Linked DNA regions of Homo sapiens: regions 2 and 3 are each linked to region 1. The links are contacts of gene promoters, found by promoter capture Hi-C in blood cells and fetal thymus (Javierre and others, 2016). All regions are on one chromosome and are shown on one strand. The core of a region is centred on a gene start or on the middle of the fragment in contact, and the rest is flanking DNA. Distances in the headings are between cores, read along the strand shown.

What was found. Contacts are between HindIII fragments. The CHiCAGO score rates a contact against its expected background, and 5 or more counts as called.
Region 2: the fragment with the promoter of SPOPL here is called in contact with the fragment with the promoter of NMI in region 1 in 1 of 17 cell types (total B cells); the score reaches 7.9 in total B cells.
Region 3: the fragment with the promoter of PPIG here is called in contact with the fragment with the promoter of NMI in region 1 in 1 of 17 cell types (total CD4 T cells); the score reaches 7.2 in total CD4 T cells.

Annotation. Positions count from the first base shown.
Region 1 is chr2:151,287,736-151,291,102 of GRCh38, forward strand. It overlaps NMI (N-myc and STAT interactor), which reads right to left and starts at 1,933. Exons shown (of 8, transcript NM_004688.3): 1 at 1,858-1,933. RefSeq lists enhancers at 482-651, 1,452-1,501, 1,522-1,571, 1,962-2,041, 2,102-2,521 and a silencer at 1,702-1,901. The HindIII fragment of the contact is 4,870 bases long and covers 64-3,367 here.
Region 2 is chr2:138,500,427-138,503,535 of GRCh38, forward strand. SPOPL (speckle type BTB/POZ protein like) reads left to right here and starts at 1,344. Exons shown (of 11, transcript NM_001001664.3): 1 at 1,344-1,693. It overlaps SPOPL-DT (SPOPL divergent transcript), which reads right to left and starts at 1,269. Exons shown (of 2, transcript NR_187149.1): 1 at 893-1,269; 2 at 1-454. RefSeq lists silencers at 1,240-1,779, 1,980-2,029. The HindIII fragment of the contact is 5,215 bases long and covers 1-3,109 here.
Region 3 is chr2:169,582,760-169,585,794 of GRCh38, forward strand. PPIG (peptidylprolyl isomerase G) reads left to right here and starts at 1,592. Exons shown (of 14, transcript NM_004792.3): 1 at 1,592-1,731. RefSeq lists an enhancer at 1,508-1,557. The HindIII fragment of the contact is 789 bases long and covers 1,317-2,105 here.

The DNA.
Region 1 (3,367 bases), core at 683-3,182:
ATGTTGAGGGCTGGGACCATGTCTACTCCTCCCTGCAGACATTCAGAGCACTTTCTCAGTATAAGCTTACACACTGAAAACACTCCATTTAGAGAATTATGTGGTATCTTGACTTAAGTATTTGTTGTACTCAGGACATCACATGTATATGAAGTCCTCTTATTACATTTCAGAAGACAGAAACTGCAATGTTATTTAATTGCTTTTTATTTTTATTATTGTGACAATGCCAATATTCCAAGAGCCTGTAATAAAGGCTCTCAGCATAAATGGTCTACTATCTAACACCACCAGAACCCTTTTGGCATCTTTTGCATCTGGATACTTTTGCTCTATGCATGAGTGGGATGTATGGTCATTCCTTTTATGCAATCATGTAGTAGGCAAAACAATGGCTCCCTCAAAGATGTCCACATCTTAATCCCAAGAATCTGTGATTATGTTAGTTTATATTGCAAAGGAGAATTAAGGCTGCAGATTGAATTAAGGTTGCTAATCAGCTTGCTTTTAAATATGGAGAGCATCCTGGATTATCTGTGGGAGCCCAGTGTAATCATGAGGCTACTTAAAAGTGAAAGCGGAAGACAGAAGAAGAGTCAAGAGTGAAATGTGACCCCGGAAGAACTTTCAGAGGCGCAATGTTGCTGGCCCTGAAGATGGAGGAAGGGCTGCTGAGCCAAATAAGGTAGGTGGCCTCCGGAAGATGGAAAGAGGATTCACCCCAAGAGCTTCCAGAAAGGAAGGCAACCCTGCCAACACTTTGATTTTAACCCAGTGAGACCTCAGTAGGACTGCTACAGAATCCTAAGATAGTAAATTGTGTATGTGAGTGTGTGTGTGTGTGTGTGTGTGCGCGCGCGCGCGCGTTCCTATGTGTTTAAGCCACTAAAGCCATGTAATTTGTTATGGCAGCGAATTAAAAAAACTGATACAAATCAACATCACCGTATTTCCGTAATACAATCATATAACTGCGGTGCCAGGCCGTGTAGAATCGAATCTTCCTATATGCATGCGTGGCAGCAAAAAGAAAGGCAATAGAACGTCTGCCTGTTGTACAGACTGGAAACACAGTATTCTCCTTCGGATGTCTCCTTCAAGAAAAACCTTGCCTATTCTGACACGCCAGCCATGACTGCACAACACTGCCCCTACCAAGAATCGTTTTCTTAAGAAATCCGTTTTCCTAAGGACTATCTCCAGAGACACTCGGAGAAAACAGCGAGGGCCGGGCGCGGTGGCTCACGCCTGTAATCCCAGCACTTTGGGAGGCCGAGGCGTGCGGATCACGAGGTCAGGAGATCGTATCCATCCTGGTTAACACGGTGAAACCCCGTCTCTACTAAAAATACAAAAAAAAAAATTAGCCAGGCGTGGTGGCGGGCGCCTGTAGTCCCAGCTACTCTACTCGGGAGGCTGAGGCTGGAGAATGGCGTGAACCCGGGAGGCGGAGCTTGCAGTGAGCCGAGATCGCGCCACTGCACTCCAGCCTGAGCGACAGAGCGAGACTCCGTCTCAAAAAAAAAAAAAAAAAAAAAAAAGAGAGAAAACAGCGAGGAAACACAAATAACTTTATGTTTCAATTTCCTCAATGAAGCAAAGCAAACAAGTGACAAGGCTCGAAGCCCTGACGGCCCAGAGACTGCACAGCGGGCCCAGGAGCAGGTGCGCCCCCTCGAAGGCGGCGTGGCCTCCGCGACTCGGCTGCGGGCAGCTCCCGGGGAGCAGGGTCTCAACTCCGGCGCTGTCCCACTTCCGTCGGCGCTGAGGGCTCCCACCTCCCTTTCCACCCCCGGCTCTCCAGCCCGGGACTGCCAGCGGCGGGAGTGGCAGCCGGGGAAGGGACTCCCCACTCACCCGCGTCCGCCCGCCGAGCGCAGCTCCCCAAGGCCCAGCGCGCCTGCCCTTCCCGGAAAACAGCAGCGCCTGAAACGCCGGAACCCCGGGAGGCACTGGGAGGGGAAGGCCCGGGTTCTCGAAACTGTCGCTGCCTCCTGCAGAAGCGCCGCGGGAGAGCTGCGGGGTCTTCCTGAGGAGGTGGCCCTCGCAGGAACAGCTGGGTTCCCCGCGAAAAGAAAAAGACAGTGAAAAAGAAAACTGCTTTAACGGCGATTTTTCTTTAGCATTTAACCAATGCTCAAATACTAAACATGGTTGTCTCCAATGATTAGTCACTAACAGAAAAAAAAACTAATTTCACTTTCGATTTTTAAAAAGGGGTGGTTTTGCGGAGGAAAGCAGAAGTATACCTGAAGTTTCCGTACACACTAATTTTAGGGAACGCTTTCTAAAACCAGTTTTTTGCATGTATTTTATAAGGTATGTTGGAAAAGTGGATAGAAACCAAATAAAGTCAAAGCAGGAATCGCTCTTCATCAGATTGTAACTCTTTTGTAATTTCTTAGTCATTGTAACACTAGTTGACAAATGTTTACAGTCAGCACAAGATCGGCGTTTCTGTGTCTTTTGTAACATCCCCCGGGGCCATGAAGTTGGGAAAGCTGTGGTGTTCCTGTTGGTTTCTGTGACCCATGTCCCTTGAAAGTTTTCTTATAATCTCTTGTTTTGTTGTGGAGCTTGTAAATAAATACTTCACTAGGTGTGAACTTTTCCTTTGAAAATTCAAACATCTGGTTTATTTCAAGAACTGCAGTGTCTCTTAATCCCACACAAAGAACCACCCCACAGCTGCCCCGGCTCATAAATACAGATGTGGGAAGAAAATGAGTCAAAATTATTTCAAGGCATAAATTATAGGTTATCATGCTACCTAGTCACATATAATAACTGATACAGTGGTCTAAAATAGTTTAACAAAAGTAAAATTTCTTTGTATCAAAAAGGTTGATGGGAACCAGTTTAAAGTGGTGACATTTCTCTTTTTTTTTTTTTTTTTTGAGATGAGTCTTGCTCTGTTGCCCAGTCTCCAACTCCTGAGCTCAAGCAGTCCTTCCACCTCCACTCCCAAGTAGCTGGGATTACAGGAATTCACGACCGCACCCAGATTTTTTGTACTTTTAATTTGGGTGCTGGGGGCAGGTATCTAACTGTTTCCCAGGCTGATCTTGAGCTCTGGCCCAAGTGATCCCACCACCTCAGCCTCCTGTAAAATGGCATTTCTAAGTAAAAAAAACGACTTCTTTGTGCTTATCAGACCAGTTAGAAAATACAAAAACTCCTTCTGCTGCAACTTGAGAAAGAATTACTTTAGTTTTACCTTGAAATTTTAGAGGGAATATGAACTCTCGAGGTTATTTAGTTGAACCTCATTTCTTCTTATTTTTATTTTTTACAAGAAGATACTAAAGGACAGGACCATGGCCAGAACAGGACTAACTTAATATATTGACTCAGATTCTGTTTAAAA
Region 2 (3,109 bases), core at 94-2,593, about 13 Mb before region 1:
CCATTTCTAGTTCTTGTCGCTTAATTTTAAGATGGAAATTTCTACGTTGAAGTTTTAGAGAGGTTGTTGAGAGAACAGAGACGATACAAGTCCATGCTTAGAATACTCAGTACATAGCAAAATAATAAATATTTTCCCTCTGCCCTCTCTCTTTTCTTGGAAAGCCAGGTAAGCAATGAGAAGTTGGTTTATGGCCAGGTGTGGTGGTTCACGCCTGCAAATCCCAGCACTTTGGGAGACCAAGGTGGGAGGATCCCTTGAGCTCAGGAGTTCGAGATCTGCTTGGGCCACATAGCAAGACCTCGTCTCCACAAAAAATTAAGATTACCTGGGCGTGGCACATTCCTGTAGTCCCAGCTACGGGAGGCTGAGTTGGGAGGATCACTTTAGCCTAGGAGGTCGAGGCTGCAGTGAGCTGTGATGGCACCACTGCACTCCAGCCTGGGTGACAGCCCTGTCAAAAACAAAACAAAACAAAAATTGCTGACGTATGCACAGTTAAAGCAAAAAGAGTTGGGATCCTTGAATGACGTTCATGTCTGTTCTGGCAAAGCCGGGATTGTTGGTCCCCCAAACTTCTTTAAAGAAGTTTACTCCTGGTAGCTCGATTAAGTATCTTTGTCCCATGGCCGTGGGGAATAAAAAGTTCAGTTGTCACCCCCTTTTTAAACTAAATGTCCGAAGAGACAAGGCAATCCCATCCTCTCTTCACACATTTGTGCAGGTGCAGCTTTATTTCCCACCGTGCGGTCCCAGGAGGCCGCCTGGTCTTCTGCGCTCACTTCCTAGGCATCCCTGGCCGCCCCTCGGCAGCCTCTCCTTCTGGCCTGAGACTTCCAGCTGAGCCTCATCCCCTCCACCTGAAAACTGCTCCATGGGGCACTTCATCTACCTGGAAAGTTCTCGATTTCCAACTGGAGCCTGTATACTGCTGGTTGTGTCTCAGCAGTTATTACAGCTCTGGGCTTACAACGGGAGCTTAGCAAAAGTTCCACCCTGGCTTCCTAGACTGCTACAGCTCCAAGAAAAATCCTGTGCGCACAAACGGCCGCCGCCTTTGGCGTCTCCCGCGGATTAGACCAGTTAGGAGGTCTCAGTAGGCTTTTAGGCAGGACAAGTTTTACGCCTGGCCAAATAAGGGTCAGACTAAGCAAGGCGCCTCCGTGCGCCTAGCCAGAGCGGTGCCGGCTGCGGAACCTGCCCCGCCGGGAGCCTAGTGCCATGCAGCAGCGGCGGCGGTGGCGGCTTCCCAAGCGCGGCGGCAAATCCGGGCCCGCCCGGAAGTGCCCGGCGCTGTAGGAGGGAGCAAGGGCCCAGGAGCCGCCGCCGCCGCCGCCGCGCGCACGCGCCCTCGCGGGCTGGAGCCGGGGCTGGAGTCGTAACTCGGAAGCCGGAGCCCAGACGGGCCCGCGGCGGGGGGGTGGGGGCTGCGCGGGGGCGGGAGTGGCGGAGGTGGCCGCCCCTGGCGGCGGGTTTGTTTATCCCGGGGAAGAAGTTTAGGAGCGGGAGATAGGGAAGGAGGGCGGGTCGGGGAGGAGGGATGCGGTTCGGCGGAGGCGGCCGCCACAGGGACTTGCCGCCATCACCCCTGCTGCCACCACCGCAGCCTCGGGCTCCCAGGGCGGACACGGCCACCGCCTCAGCGGGAGAGGAGTCTCCACCAGGACTGACCGCTGCCGCCCAGCACGTCCAGGTAGGCGCCCCTTCCCCTCCCCCCAGTCCCCGCGGCAGCCCCAGGCGCTTGCTCCCCTCCCCCGGCTCTCCGTAGACCGGCGGCCTCCTGCTCGCGCCTCACTGCGCCCTCTGCTCTCTGGGTCCCGGACCCCTGCTCGGGCGGCGAGCTCCGGCCTGCTCTGGGGACTACCTCCCACGCCCCCGGACCGCCCTTCCCTCGCGCGGCGGCACCACTTTCCCCGGGGTTGCCCCCAATCCCTCCTTGATTTCCCAGCCTCCACCTTCCAGGATCCCCTTTAGTTTTACCCCCGGGCCTCGCCCCTTCTTTTCCTCTGGCTTCTCTCCTCCTCTATACCTGTATACCTCCACACCTGCCCCTTTTTACCTGAGTGCTGCCCAAAGGCAGAAACTGCATGCTCTGCCACCGCGCAGCGTCCACTTTCATACCTCCTCATCCCAAATACAGACACTTGAAACTCTCGTCCCTGTTAGCCCATTTTAGGCAGAGTTCTCAGCTTCGCAGACCGCTCACTACCTCCAGTCCGGTGGTCATGCCTTTAACCTCTCTTTAACCTGCTTTCTAATACATTTTTGCTCACTTATACCAGAGTACATCAAGCTAACCGCGCGGTTCGGGGTCCAAGTCTTCAAAGAGCCCACTTGTATTCCTGCTGCTCTCCTTTTTCCTAATTCTTTTTGAGTCAATGTATTTGTATATTGATTCAACATAAAAGAAAAGGGAAGGTAGCATTTTCTCTCTCAAAGCAGTCACACAACCCAGTAGAAATAAGATTCACCATCTGCTTATCCTAACTTTCGCTTGTCTCTTTCCTGACTGAACTCTGTCATTCAGTGATTCTTTCCAGGCTTCTGATGCTTTGTCTATTTTTGAATAATCTTGGGCCTAGTTTGACCCATTGTGGTACTCACTTTCCCACTTGCAATTGAATCCACTGTTTCTTGGACTAGAAACTGACAGAGGTAAAAGGTTCATACCTTGAAAAATTACATCTCTCCTGCCACGATGAGATTGGTGGAATATTTCAAATTACCATTTCATCATTCTTGTGAGAAATGTTGCCTAGTGGTTAAGAACTCTTCTCTAGAGCTCAGACTAGTATATAGTTGCCAGGGTGTAAACCCTTGCTCTGCCATCTACCAGCTTTGGCTTTGGGGAAGTTACTTAATATTTCTTCGCCTCAGTATACTTACAGCTGTAAAATGGGGTTATGATATGACATCACAGGATGGTGCTAGTAATTGCACAAGTAAATACAAGTAAAGTACTTAAAACAGTACCTGGCACAGGGCAAATATCTGATAAATGCTATCATCACTTCTTGGTTTGACTTGATCTGGCTTGTGGGTAGATTAATTCTAAGACAGGAAGGTGGGAATGGAAAGCTACTTTCTTATTCTTTGACATTTAACAACC
Region 3 (3,035 bases), core at 342-2,841, about 18 Mb after region 1:
GCATAGTATTCCATGGAGTATATGTACCACATTTTCTTTATCAAGTCTACCATTGATGGACATTTAGGTTGACTCCATGTCTTCGCTATTGTGAATAGTGTGGCAATGAACATACATATGTGTATGTCTTTATAACAGAACAACTTATATTCCTTTGGGTATATACCCAGTAATGTGATTGCTGGGTCAAATGGTATTTCTGCCTCTAGGTCTTTGAGGAATCGCCACGCTGTCTTCCACAATAGTTGAATTCATTTAAACTCCCACCAGCACTGTAAAATGTTCCTTTTTCTCCACAACCTCACCAGCACCTGTTATTTTTTGACTTTTTAATAATAGCCATTCTGACTGGTATGAGATAGTATCTCACTGCGGTTTTGATTTGCATTTTTCTGATGATTGGTGGTGTTGAGCTTTTTCATTATGATTGTTGGCTGCAAGTATGTCTTCTTTCGAAAAGCGTTGGCCGGGCGTGGTGGCTCACACCTGTAATCCCGGCACTTTGGGAGGCCAAGGAGGACGGATCACCTGAGGTTGGGAGTTTGAGACCAGCCTGACCTACATGGAGAAACCCTGTCTCTACTAAAAATACAAAAAATTAGCCAGGCCAGTCTGTGGCCCAGGGGTTGGGGACCCCTGTTTTAAGGTATTGCAGAATTGTCCCCTCCACACACAGCGAAGTGTAAATCCGTTTAATCTCTGAACTATCTAAAGATGAATATGCTGCTGCTCTCCTGCAATAAAGGGCAATGACTTAAAAGAGGTGGGGGTGGAGAGGCAGAAATGTCCTCTGTTTTACTGCTGTGTAAAACTGGTCACGCCCCTTAGAAGCACCACCACATGCCTAACTGTTGTTGATAATTAATTTACCTGATGCAAGTGAGTGAAAAATTTAAATGATCATAATTTACGTTGCCTTTAAACGACAGAACAATTTAAGTCCTCTAGTTAGCTAGTTCCTTTAAAACACACCCCACATCCCTACCAGAATCACTGCCCATCCCCCCCCACCCCCCCGCCCAAACAGCAATGGTTATTTATTTCTAACATAATCCGGGGACCCTTGCCCCTTAAAATAATTAAATAATATATGCCATATTTTCTCTAGAAGGCACTAGATTTGGCATCAAAAGACTTGCTTTGGCATTCAAGAACAGTGTGTTTGAGGAGGAGGCGTTTATCTTCCCTGAGCCTCAATTTCTTTATCTGTAAAACAACAAAGAACATCAAAGCTCTTTGTAATTTCTTCCTCTTTCCTCAAATAACACTTTGCTCATTACTGCGTTTTTAGAACTTATATCCTAGCGTTAAGTGGAAGCTTAACTGGAAGCTCCATGAAGGTAGGCCTTCCTTTCTGATAACCTAGCGTAAGATCAATAAATGTTTATTAAATGAGGCACTTTACTTCACAAAGGATATGGCATTTTAACGGTTACAAGCGTTCCCAGTCAACGCATCCACAAAGCATTAGGCCACCTATAAACTAGGAATTTAAAAGGCACCAAAATCCTAGAAGTCCTAGGAGGGCGTGGTGACGCAAGCAGGTGAACGCTGGCCGATGCTGACAACCCACTCCTGACGCGCTTCCGGTGCGACGCTGTCTCTCCATGCCAGGACTGAGTTGTGGGGGAGGGAGGCGGTTAGCGGGCTTTAGCGCCTTTTCTGGCGGCGGTAGATTTGAAGCGCTTCAAAGGACCGGACCCAGAGAAGAGGAAAACTCTACCGGTGCAGGTAAGTGGTATGAGGCTCAAGTTGTTCTGGCGGCGTCATTTCAGCAGTCCCTGCGTACGAAAGCGGGAAGGGCCTGGGAAGAGGGGCGGAGCCGGCGCGGCTGACCGGGTTGGGTTTACCGTCTTTCCCTCGAGGTATCGGGGCTGCTTGGGCCCAGAGGAAGTCCCTGAGGACCGCAGCAGTGCCTTTGCCGCTGTTGCAGAAGGAGAAGGCTTGCAGTCGAGCCCCGGGGCCTGGGGACGGTCCTTCCTCTGCCAGCCCCCGCCCTCCCCACTCAGGCGCACACCTCCCTCACTGACGCATTTTGCCGCACAAGCTGTAACATGGCGGCAGCGACTGCGGCCTGAACTCTAGGGAGCCGGGTTGATTTTTAAAGCTTCAAAATCCTAAGACTCAGCACTGTTGCGGGGTAGGTGGCGGGACTGGTGGGGAAGGGGGAGACAGCCTGACGTCCTGTCAGGCTAGGGTTGGAGAGTGACGGGCGAAGAGCCTGAATCACAGGGATTAAAATTGAAGACTAGCTTTCCTCCTCTTTCGACCTTTTCCTCTCACAGCACAGTGGCTGTCGTGCAGTTAAGTGGCAGAGGCCACTTTGTTAAGCATTTTTCTAAAACTCAAGTCCAGGGTCTTGAGCTCTCGCGAAGTTCCCCCGTGTTTCGGAGGAGCTGTGAGCTGCGCAGGCCTTTTAGGAGGAGATAATTACTCTTTAGGAGGAAGATGATGATTTCGGGGCTCAGTATGCCTGAAGGGGAAGTATGCTAATTTGGTTCTTGGTTAGTCTTTTTTTTTGAGACGGAGTCTCGCTCTGTCGCCTAGGCTGGAATGCAGTGGCGCGATCTTGGCTCACTGCAACCTCCGCCTCCTGGGTTCAAGTGATTCTTCTGCCTCAGCCTCCCAAGTAGCTGGGACTACAGGCACGTGCCACCATGCCCGGCTAATTTTTTGTGTTTTTAGTAGAGACGGGTTTTCACCGTGTTAGCCAGGATGGTCGATCTCCTGACCTCGTGATCCGCCCACCTCGGCCTCCCAAAGTGCTGGGATTACAGGCGAGAGCCACCGCGCACGGCCAGCTCATGTTTAGTCTTAAGGAGCAAAGTCTAGATGTGCTGGCAAGGAGTATGCACAATCGTTTTGGAAATGCTATAAAAGCACCATTTTGTGCATTGATTTTAATTTCTTTCCACGATAGCCCTTTCTGTGTGTAACCAACATTTTGCAGTAGTGAACACAAATACAAAAGTATTTGCTTTTATAGTTTGGTACTAACATAGTTGTCCAAAGAACAATTAGATGTTTTAGAAATT